2 separate regions of the Homo sapiens genome follow, and region 1 is linked to region 2. The links are contacts of gene promoters, found by promoter capture Hi-C in human tissues and cell types (Jung and others, 2019). All regions are on one chromosome and are shown on one strand. The core of a region is centred on a gene start or on the middle of the fragment in contact, and the rest is flanking DNA. Distances in the headings are between cores, read along the strand shown.

Region 1 (5,052 bases), core at 82-2,581, 73 kb before region 2:
GGAATCTATTCCAATCTCCCATACAATAAAGGGACCCTTCCCAAACTGTCCCAGTTGAGCCTTATTTGAAAGCTTCCAGTGGTACAGAAGTCACTATCTGCTGCTCCAAGGAAATTTAACCACCAGCTCTTCCATTTGTAGACAGCTCTAGTTGTTAGAAAATCCTTCTTTGTCTTAAGCTGAAAATGGTTGCATCTTTAATCCATTGGTCATGGTTCTGTTGAATTAAACTGCACAGATTGTGCCTACATTCCCACTCAGGCTTTGATATATCCCCTCTCAGTTTTCTCTTTTTCAGGAAGACATCCTTACTTCTTTTTGTCAATTCTTATCATACAGTAGGAACACTGTGAACCCACTGGGTAATTGAATGCTGACTGCCCATGTCTAGGAGTGAAGCCAACCATGCAGAAGGCAGCAATGCTGTCCCCTTCCACACCCTGCCACTGGACTTGATGTTTGAAGCCATTCCTGAGCCAACTCATAGTCAGGAATGAGGATTTTAGTCCCAACCCCACTAGCACATGACCTCGGACCAGTTATTTATACTATCTGGAAATCCATTTTCTCAACAGTGAAAATGAGGGGGCTGGATTACTCTACCTTCTGTAATTCATTCTATGGTTTCAGGGTGGTCACTGTGGAGATTTATCTTGTGAAAGAGAGTACATTAGCCCATTGTCACTGCCACAGAACTAGGTTTCAGTCCTTTACTAGCTTCAACTGAGGAAAGGGACACCAGGCTCCAGGAGTGGCGGGGAGGAAGAGAGAGTTTTGATAGATGCTAAAAGAGAGGAGAGAAAAATCTAGAGATCCAGGGGGGCATTTCTATTCAGGCAGAAGGAACCATAATGACTCTGGGGACAGGTGCTGAAGAATAAATTCCAAGAAGACAAATTAAATGGACTTCCCAATTTTGCTTAGTCTAGTCCCAATTAGATATGGACTCCTACAGTACAATGAAGCAGGAGTTCTGCTTTTGAAGGACTATTGATATAGTGAGCTCAGTTACCCAGAAACCAACTGATCTAGTTTGTGAGTTATGTAAGTACCTTGGTTTTGCTCCTGGCACTAGAAATTTAGCCAAATTCCTGCTTACAAACAGAACCATCAGACACAGGGAGAGGAGTGAAATTAAAAGTGAAAAAACTAGAGCTTACAGCTTCTGATAGTGGAGAATAAGCTCCTACTGGATCAACCCTCCTGCAAATAACAACCATAAACTATGAACAAAATATAAAGAAACAATTGCCTGAAAGCACTGGAAGCAGCCAAAAGCAGGTCCACACTGGAGAGAAATGAAACCTGAACTGAGAAGAAGGAAAAAGCACTGGTGAGTTTTCCTTTGCTTACAGGTTTCATCTGAAGGCAGACCCCACTTGAAGCCAAGTAAGACAACTAAAACTCAGATAGAAAACCTGCAGCCTTAATGTATTGAAGAACCAGCAGAGTTTGGGGTACCCACAGCAGCTGCAAAATGAAAGAGCGAATCCTAGAAAGGAGAGAGCTATAGGAGGGGGATTTTAAATTCGTGTATAAAGTCTCTTCAAGATCCTGGCTAATCCCTGAACTATGCATAGATTAGGCATACTCTGAGCAGCCCAGTGAAGGCTAAACAAACTGAACTAAGAATTCTGTTACTGCCCACTTAAGAGAAACAGGGTTTTGAGTTTGAATCCAGCCATGTTTGCTGACTATGAAACAAACAGACAAACAAATGAAAATAATCTTCAGAAAAACATAACAGAACTCAGCAAAGTAAGTAGAAGGATGGAAACACTAGAGAGCACAAACCAATGAAATAGAAAACAGACAAACAATAGAAAAAATTAAGAAGTCCAAAAGTTGGTCGTTTAAAAGATCAACAAACTTGACAGACACCTAGCTGAATTGCTTAAGAAACAAGTAAGAGTACACAAATGACCAATATCAACATTGAAAGAGGGGATACACTACAAATCCTACAGTCATTCAAGGATAAGGGAATATTATGGAGAACTTTATGCTAATAAACTTGACAAGTATTTAGGTGAACTTAACAAATTCCTTGAAAAAAATGCACCTCACAAATACTGATGCAAGATATATAGAATAACCCTATGTCTTAAAAAAATAGAAATAATTATTAAAACCCTTCCCACAAAGAATACACCAAGCTTAGATGGCCTCACTGGTGTCTTTTATCAAATATTTAAGGGAAAATAGCACAATCTTACCCAAACTCTTTCAGAAAGAGGAAGAAGAAATTCTTCTCAAGTCATTTTATAAGGCAAATATAATCCTGATGCCAAAACCTGACAAAAACATTATTTAAAAAAAAGAAAATTGCAGGCCAATATCTCTGTTGAATTTAAATTTTTAAAATTCTCAACAACTAATAGAAAATAAAATCCAGGCTGGATGTGGTGGCTTACCACTGTAATCCCAGCACTTTGGGAGGCCGAGGTGGGCAAATCATTTGAGATCAGGAGTTCGAGACCAGCCTGGACAACATGGTGAAACTCCATGTCTATTAAAAATACAAAAAATTTACCTGGGTGTGGTGGCATACACCTGTGGTCCCAGCTACTTGGGAGGCTGAGGCATAAGAATCACTTGAACCCTGGAGGAGGAGGTTGCAGTGAGCTGAGATCGCACCACTGCACTCCGGCCTGGGTGACAGAGGGAGAATCTGTCTCAAAAAAAAAAAAAAAGAAAAGAAAATCCAGCAATACACAAAAAGGACAAAGCAATACACAAAAAGGACAATATATCATGAACAAATGAGGTTTATCTTACAAATTCAAGGTTGATTTAATTTAACATTCAAAACTCAATAAATATAATTCACCATATTAACACAATAAAGAGAAACCCCATATAATCATTTATGTCAACAGAGAAGGCATTTATCAAAATCCAATACCCATTGTTGATTTAAAACTCTCAGCAAACTAAGATTAGAATAAAACTTTATCAACTCAATAAAGAGCATCTTTGAAAAACCAACAGCTAACATCCTTGATGGTAAAACATTAAATACTTTCCTCTAGAAATGGGAACAAGACAAAGAAATTTACTCTCGTTATTTCTTTTCAACGTTGTACCAAGGCCCTGGCCAGTGCAATAAAGGAGAAGAAAAGGAAGAAAAGAAAAGATGGGAAAGGAAGATGTGAAACTGTCTCTATTCACAGATGACATGATTACTAACACAGAAAATTATAAGGAATTTATAAAACAACCACCAGAACTAATAAGTTAACTTAGTAAGGTTGCAGGAAACAATGTCAGTATATAATGATCAATTGCATTTTTATATACTAGCTGCAAACAATTCAAAAATGGAATTACAACAATTTTATTTCCAATAGCATTAGGAAACTTAAAATTGTTAGTAATAAATGTAGCAAAAGATGTAGAAGGCCTGTACACTGAAAATTGCAACACATTCCTGAGAGAATTCAAGAATACTTAAATAAATGTTTATGGATCAGAAGATTCAATATTGTCATGCTATCAATAAACAGCAAATTGATCTATAGAGTCAGTGCAGTCTCAATCATAATCCTATCATGTAGGAAAAGATGAGCTGTTTCAAAAATATAACTGGAAAGGCAAGTGTAGTAGGATATACAGAGCCATCTTGAAAAAGAAAAACAAGTTTGGAGGGTTTACTCCACTTGCTTAAGGCTGTACTATGAAGCTACAGTAACCATGACAGGGTGATATTGGTACCAATTGATACTGGTACTGATCGATACTGGTACCTGAAATAGATCCACAATTATATGTCAACTGATTTTTCTAAATTTTTATTTGGAAATAATGATAGATTCACAGGTAATTGCAAAGATAGTACAGAAAGGGTCCCATGTACCCTTCTCCCAGCTTCTCCCAATGGTTCCATCTTATATAATTACAGTGCAATATCAAAACCAGAAAATTGACAGTGGCATAATGGGTGTGTATAGTTCTGTGCCATTTTATCACACGTGTAGATTCATACATCCACTGCAATCAAGATACAGATCTGTTTCATCATCACAAAGATCTCTCTGATTCAACTCCTTTATAATCACATCTATCCTCCCTCTTCCCACTCCCAAGCCCTAGAAACCACTAACCTCCATCTCTTGGCCAATTGATTTTTGACAAAGATACCGATGCAATCCTATGAAGGAACGGAAAGTCTTTTTTTTTAATGTGCTGAAACATGTCAAACCTACACCCTTATCTCATACCATATCTAGAAACTTAATTCACTGTGGATCACAGACCTAAGCATAAAACTAAAACTGTGAAGCTTCTAGAACAAAACACAGAAGAAAATTTTTGTGATCTTGGAATAAGGAGAGCTTTTCTAGAGAATAGAAAAATTTTAAAATTGATAAATTAGGCCTTATCAAAATTTAAAACTCCTGCTCATCAGAGGATATCATTAAGAAAATAAATAGCCAAGCCACATACAAGTTACAGACTGGGAGAAAATATTTGCAAAATTTATATCTGACAAAGGACCCAGACCTTTGATTGATATATATATATATATATATATATATATATATATATATATATATATATATTTAAGCCCTTACAACTCAATAATAAAAAAATTTAAAACAAATTTTTGAAGGGCAGAAAATGTGAGCAAACACTTAACAAAGTGAAGTATGCAAATGGACAAGTATATAAAAAAGTGCTCAGTGTAATTGTCGGGGAAATGAAAACGAAAACTAACCACAGACTTGCTAGAATGGTTAAAATTTAAAAGACTGACAACAACAAGTTTTGGTGAGAATATGGAGCAATCAGGATTCTTGTATATATTACATATTGTTGGGGAAAGTTCTGGCAGTTTCATCTAAAACAAACACACTAGGCTAGAATCCTTAAAAAAAATTGAGCTCTAGCTAATTAAGGGCATACTGAAGTATCTGGAAGTGAGATGCACTGAAGTCTGCAACTTACTTTTAAAAGTACACAAAAAAATAAGAGATTGTTGAGTAGTTAGAGAGATAAATAGGTGTCATAGAACAATAAAGAAAAAATATTAATTTTAGAATCTAGATGGGG
Region 2 (4,902 bases), core at 1,681-4,180:
CATAGATGAAAGTGTTGAGTACTACTAAGAAGTAGTATTTTTGGACCCACACTTAAATTCTATTCCACAGTTTCTGGGGCCATAACAAGCCATTCTGCAGTGGAATACTGGTATTTCCAAATTCAACCTTCTGGGATATGTCTCACGTCCAAGTTAGAACCACAGTTAGGAGCATTTCATGGGTGCACAGGGAATAGTAGCCAGTATAAGTGTTGTCATATATTTTCATCACACAAACAAAACATTTCCACGAACATCAAGCCAGATAAAAATTTGTTAAGTTTTCAAGCTGTTAACCTTTTTTCCATTGCTGCACCATGCTTCTCTCAGCTAGAAGAAGCAATTTACTTACCAAGCCTGTAAATGTGTGCTGACAGCATCCTCATGGACAGCAGCATGTAGCTTTGGTTTTATATAATTAAAACTAAACTACATGTCTTTGGTGATTGAAGAGGATAAGCATTTTCTTGAGATAACTGAAAGCTAAATTTGAAGTGTAACATCATTCATCCTTGTCAATGCTCATATTCCAACAGAGGGCATGTTACTCAAAGCAAACGTTTTCTCAACCGCAAGGTAATTTTAGGCTAAAATGTGAGTTTCTACTTCACCTCCCTCTTTCCCTTGCTCCTCCTCAACTCTGCACAGTTATCAAAGGGAGAGAAAAAAGTGCATTTGAGAATAAATATGAAAATGGTATTTGGGGTCACCACTGGTTGGTATTCTTTTGGGTTAGGAATGCTCAAGTACCACTATGAAGGGCAATTAAACGGCAGACACCCTAAATACCTGGAGACAGATGTTCTGCGGAACTACAGCAAATCAAGATTGGCTTGACTTGCACCAGAAATAACACGATGCCACTCCCCAGTTAACTCTATTGTCCTCCTTTGGGCCTGCAAGCGTTACCTAATAATAAGCTTTATTAGTGCAATAATATAGATGAGTACAAAGAGATTGGGAATCCAGAACTTTCATTCCATCTTTCCAGCCCCATTGGCTGGTGGCTGGGCCAGATAATGGCCACTTGATCTAAGCTCCCAGAAGCCCTCTTTAAGAAGCATCAATTCTAAGTTTGGATTCTTCAACACCTGCTAAGCATCCTTCATTCTTGAAATGGAGGGTTTTTCAGCTTCACCCATTCCAACCTCTCCTCTCCACACCAGACTGCTGGGTTCCTCCTGTCCCTCAGCGATCACACATCCTCTCATCTCTGGAACTGTCAAGACTTGGCAAATGATTATTTTAGCAACAGTGGAAACCACTCTATTGCAGCCCAAAGATCTCGACTTCCCTCACAAAAGCACACACGACACAGACGAGCTGAGGAAGCAACAGTTCCAGTCCCACTCCTTCCCCCAAATTATTTATCTTCTATCAAGATTTGTGAATCAGCCGATATATGAATTAGCAAGTACTTGTTCAACACACCGTTCCCCAGCGCCCGTTCTAAGTAGATGGCTAAGGAAATACACACACACACACACACACAGAGACACACACACACAGAGACACACACACATACACACTCTTAAATCTCTTCAGGGATTAACCAGCTTCCCAAGAAGCTGGTTGGGGTTGTTGTAGTTGGCTTTTGTGGGGCGGGTAGGTGGGGGAGTGAGGAAGTTGGACGCTCTGCGTTTGCTGGAAGCTATGCTCGGCGACGCCGAGAGCCCTGGGGTGATGCTGGGTGAGCCGAGGCTGCCAGGCGCTTCCTGCCTCCCAGCTGAGCGAAAGCAGCGAGTGCGCGCAGGGCGGAATCCTGACCCCACCCGCAGGCGCCCTCCGCACCCGCAGCGCGGCCGTCCTCTCCGCCTGGGTTCTAGGGGCCATGGCGAGGGAGCCTCCAAGCCGGTGCCTAGAGAGCAGGACCTGTTGCAGAGGGAATGGGAAAGGAGCGAGGGGAAAGGGCGAAGTCGTGGGTCAAGAAGGGCGGAGAAAGAGCGGAGCTCAGAGGGGCAGAGAGATCGGGATGAGCTTGGAGAGCAGGCGAGATTCCCCAAGCTCAGAGCCTGCTGGCTGGAAAGAGGGAGGGCAAAAGGGCAGGGAAAAGAATATCGCTGCAAAGCGAAGAGAAGGACTGAGGAAACTCCAGAGAGTCACAGACAGGCGGGATTCAGGGCACTGCGCACTGAACAGATGTGAAACCCGGGGCGGGAGCGCTGCACCCTAGGTCCCCACACCTGTGGCTTTGCGGGGAGCATAGGCGCAGCTTAGATTTCAGCCCATGCCAGTCGCTGTTGAGGCCACCGAGCTGGACCAGGGTTCTGAGATGCTTTCAAGGGACAACGCTCCCCAAGATTATTCTAGGAGAGTACCGTGCCAGACAGGTTGAGACTAGGCGGACAAAAGGAGATGTAGGATGGGCGCAGAGGGAAGGTGATCTGCACCGGGGTTGGCTGTTGGGAGCTCGGGTGCCCTGGGGAAGACAGGCTGGAAGCGAGCGGGAAAGGATCAGCGGACCAGCCTGCGGCTGACTAGGGACTCATGGGCTCCCTAGAATGGGGAAAGGTGGGGTGGAGTTTTAGGAGAACGGGGAAGGTGTTTGCCGATAGAAAGGTCACAACAAACCCAGCTCCCAAAGCTGGGCCAGGGAAACGCAAAGAAATGGGGAGACAGGTCCCCTCCGGCTGGCTGATCCAGAGGAGGACAAGCGCGCGGCTCCCGCGGCCAGGACACTCACCCACCGCCCAGTGGTTGCCGCGCGGGTACATCTTGGTCAGCACGGTCCCTCCGCCCGCAGGCAGCGGGACCGCTCGCCCCCGGGGCGCCAGGCAGAGGACCAGCGCCAGCAGGACCAGCGGGAGCTCACGGCCGCGCATGGTCCCGACGGGAAGCCCTTGGAGCGCGCCGGAGAGGCTGGGAAGAGCAGAGACTGGTGACCCGGACCTCGGAGGAGCTCCGCCGCCGCAGCCGCTGGTGCTACTGCTGCGGCCTCCACTAGGGCCCCTACTTTATATGGAAGCCCGGGCGGGGGGGCTGGGGGGCTCTTCTATCGCGGACCAGAGCGCTCTGACGTCTCCCTATAGCTAACCGGGGCGCTGGGACGCCCGGTCCGGAAAACCATCCATCTCCCCGCCGAGTGATGAAAAGGCTGAGTGTACATTGCCCCCTCTTTTTTCCTCGTAGCCCCGTCCGCCTTCCCCACATCGGATTAATTCCTCCGGTCCTCGACGCCTTCCATCCAACACAATTTAGTGAACTCCTCCCTCTCCAGGCTCGCCGGCGCCTCCAGCCTTAGCTGCCTTGAGAGTCCTGGAGAGGGCGACCCCGCTGCCTGATCTGGGCCGGGAGGGGTGGGGGGTGTAGCTGGAGACGGGTGAGCTCTAAAGATGGATGGGCTTTGCTGGAGGGATTTGGAACCACCATTTGAAGGCCTTCTGATTCTCCAGACCTTTCTCTTCGTAGGCCACATCTTTGCTGTCCCAGCCCATAGATTTTGGAACCTTGCCTCCTTGCAGATCTCTCTCTCTTTTTCTGGACCTTGCCTCTTTCTTGCAGATCTCCTCCCCTCCTCTCCCCTCCTCTCCCCTCCTCTCCCCTCCCTTCCCCTCCTCTCCCCTCCTCTCCCCTCCCTTCCCCTCCTCTCCACTCCCATACCCTCCCCTCCCCTCCACTCCCCTTCTCTCTTCTCCTCCCCTTCCCATCCCTCTCTCTCTCCCCTCCTCCCCAATCTCTCTCTCTCTCTGTCTCTCTCTCCCCCTCTGCTGCCCTCCACCTTAAGGTTAAGGGCAGTATCCTTAACCCACCTGGTATTCCCAGGCAGCTCTGCCCACTTGTATGGCAAGACAGAAGATAGCTGGCCCTTTTCACAAGCATGCAACTTCCATGGAATAGAGAAAGAAACTGCTTTATGCCAGTTTCCCTAGGCTGCCTCTACCTGAAAGCTCAAACTGTCCCTAAACTGCCACATACACACCCCTCTAGAGTTGCTCAACGTTCCTCTGCTCCTTCTGTTCTCAGATCTAAAGAATGGTCACCAGCCCAATCCCCGAGGTTCTAAATACCATGGATACAAAGGGGATCAGCACCATAGCAATGCAACAATAAATAGAAGCTGGTAGGATGCTGTTGCCCACGTTTTGGCTGCCAGAGTTGGCCGTGTGGTTGGAATAGGTGAGGTCTATTCCTCCTCAAATGCTTGTTAATTGCCTCCCTGTTGGGTCTTTAGTGTTCCATGTCAACATGGTGTTGATATTGATATATTGATATTGATAAAGTTGAAAACATACACTTGTGTCTGAGTATCTGCTGATTCAATACATTCTTCTTCTTCTTTTTTTTTTTTTTTTTTTTTTGAGACAGAGTCTTGCTCTGTCACCCAGACTGGAGTGCAATGGCGTAATCTGGGCTCACTGCAACCTCTGCCTTCCCGGCTCAAGTGATTCTCCTGTCTCCGCCTGTGGAGTAGCTGACATCACAGGCATGCACCACCACGTCTGGCTAATTTTGTATTTTTAGTAGAGATGAGTTTTCACCATGTTGGCCAGGCTGGTCTTGAACTTCTGACCTCAAGTGAGCCGTGGCCTCCCAAAGTGCTGGGATTACAGGCATGAGCCACTGTGCTTGGTGTTCAATATATTCTTAAGTGATTACACACTCACATTGCATGACTGAGTACTCTTGGATCTGAAGAGTATTTTCATGCATGTGTCTGGGTCTAAGAGAAAAAAAGTCAATTTTAAGATCATTAATAGTTTGGTAGCCAACCAAATACAATAATACTATCCTCAGTGAGTGAGCTAAGTGAAAATCAAAAGAAAAAGGTCCACAGACTGGCCTGGGCTCCATCCCTCCCGGGTTCCCAGCCTCTCTGCATTCCGTTCCCAGGCTCTGTCAGTAGGCAAGTGTTCCATTGGCAGGCAACTGATCATCCCTAGGCGTGCTGCCTCCCACACAGTG

What was found. The method cuts DNA at HindIII sites, captures the fragments that hold promoters and counts their contacts. A contact is called where the count stands out against the background at its distance.
Region 1: a contact is called between a fragment that was not itself captured here and the fragment with the promoter of GRP in region 2, in 2 of the 25 tissues and cell types used here (IMR-90 fibroblasts and pancreas).

The regions. Positions count from the first base shown.
Region 1 is chr18:59,289,483-59,294,534 of GRCh38, reverse strand. No RefSeq gene overlaps it. Among named protein-coding and RNA genes, the nearest start is that of RAX, 19 kb to the right of the region's middle. The HindIII fragment of the contact is 3,777 bases long and covers 1-3,219 here.
Region 2 is chr18:59,218,186-59,223,087 of GRCh38, reverse strand. It overlaps GRP (gastrin releasing peptide), which reads right to left and starts at 2,930. Exons shown (of 3, transcript NM_002091.5): 1 at 2,684-2,930. The coding sequence starts at 2,822. RefSeq lists an enhancer at 3,096-3,710. The HindIII fragment of the contact is 15,677 bases long and covers 1-4,902 here.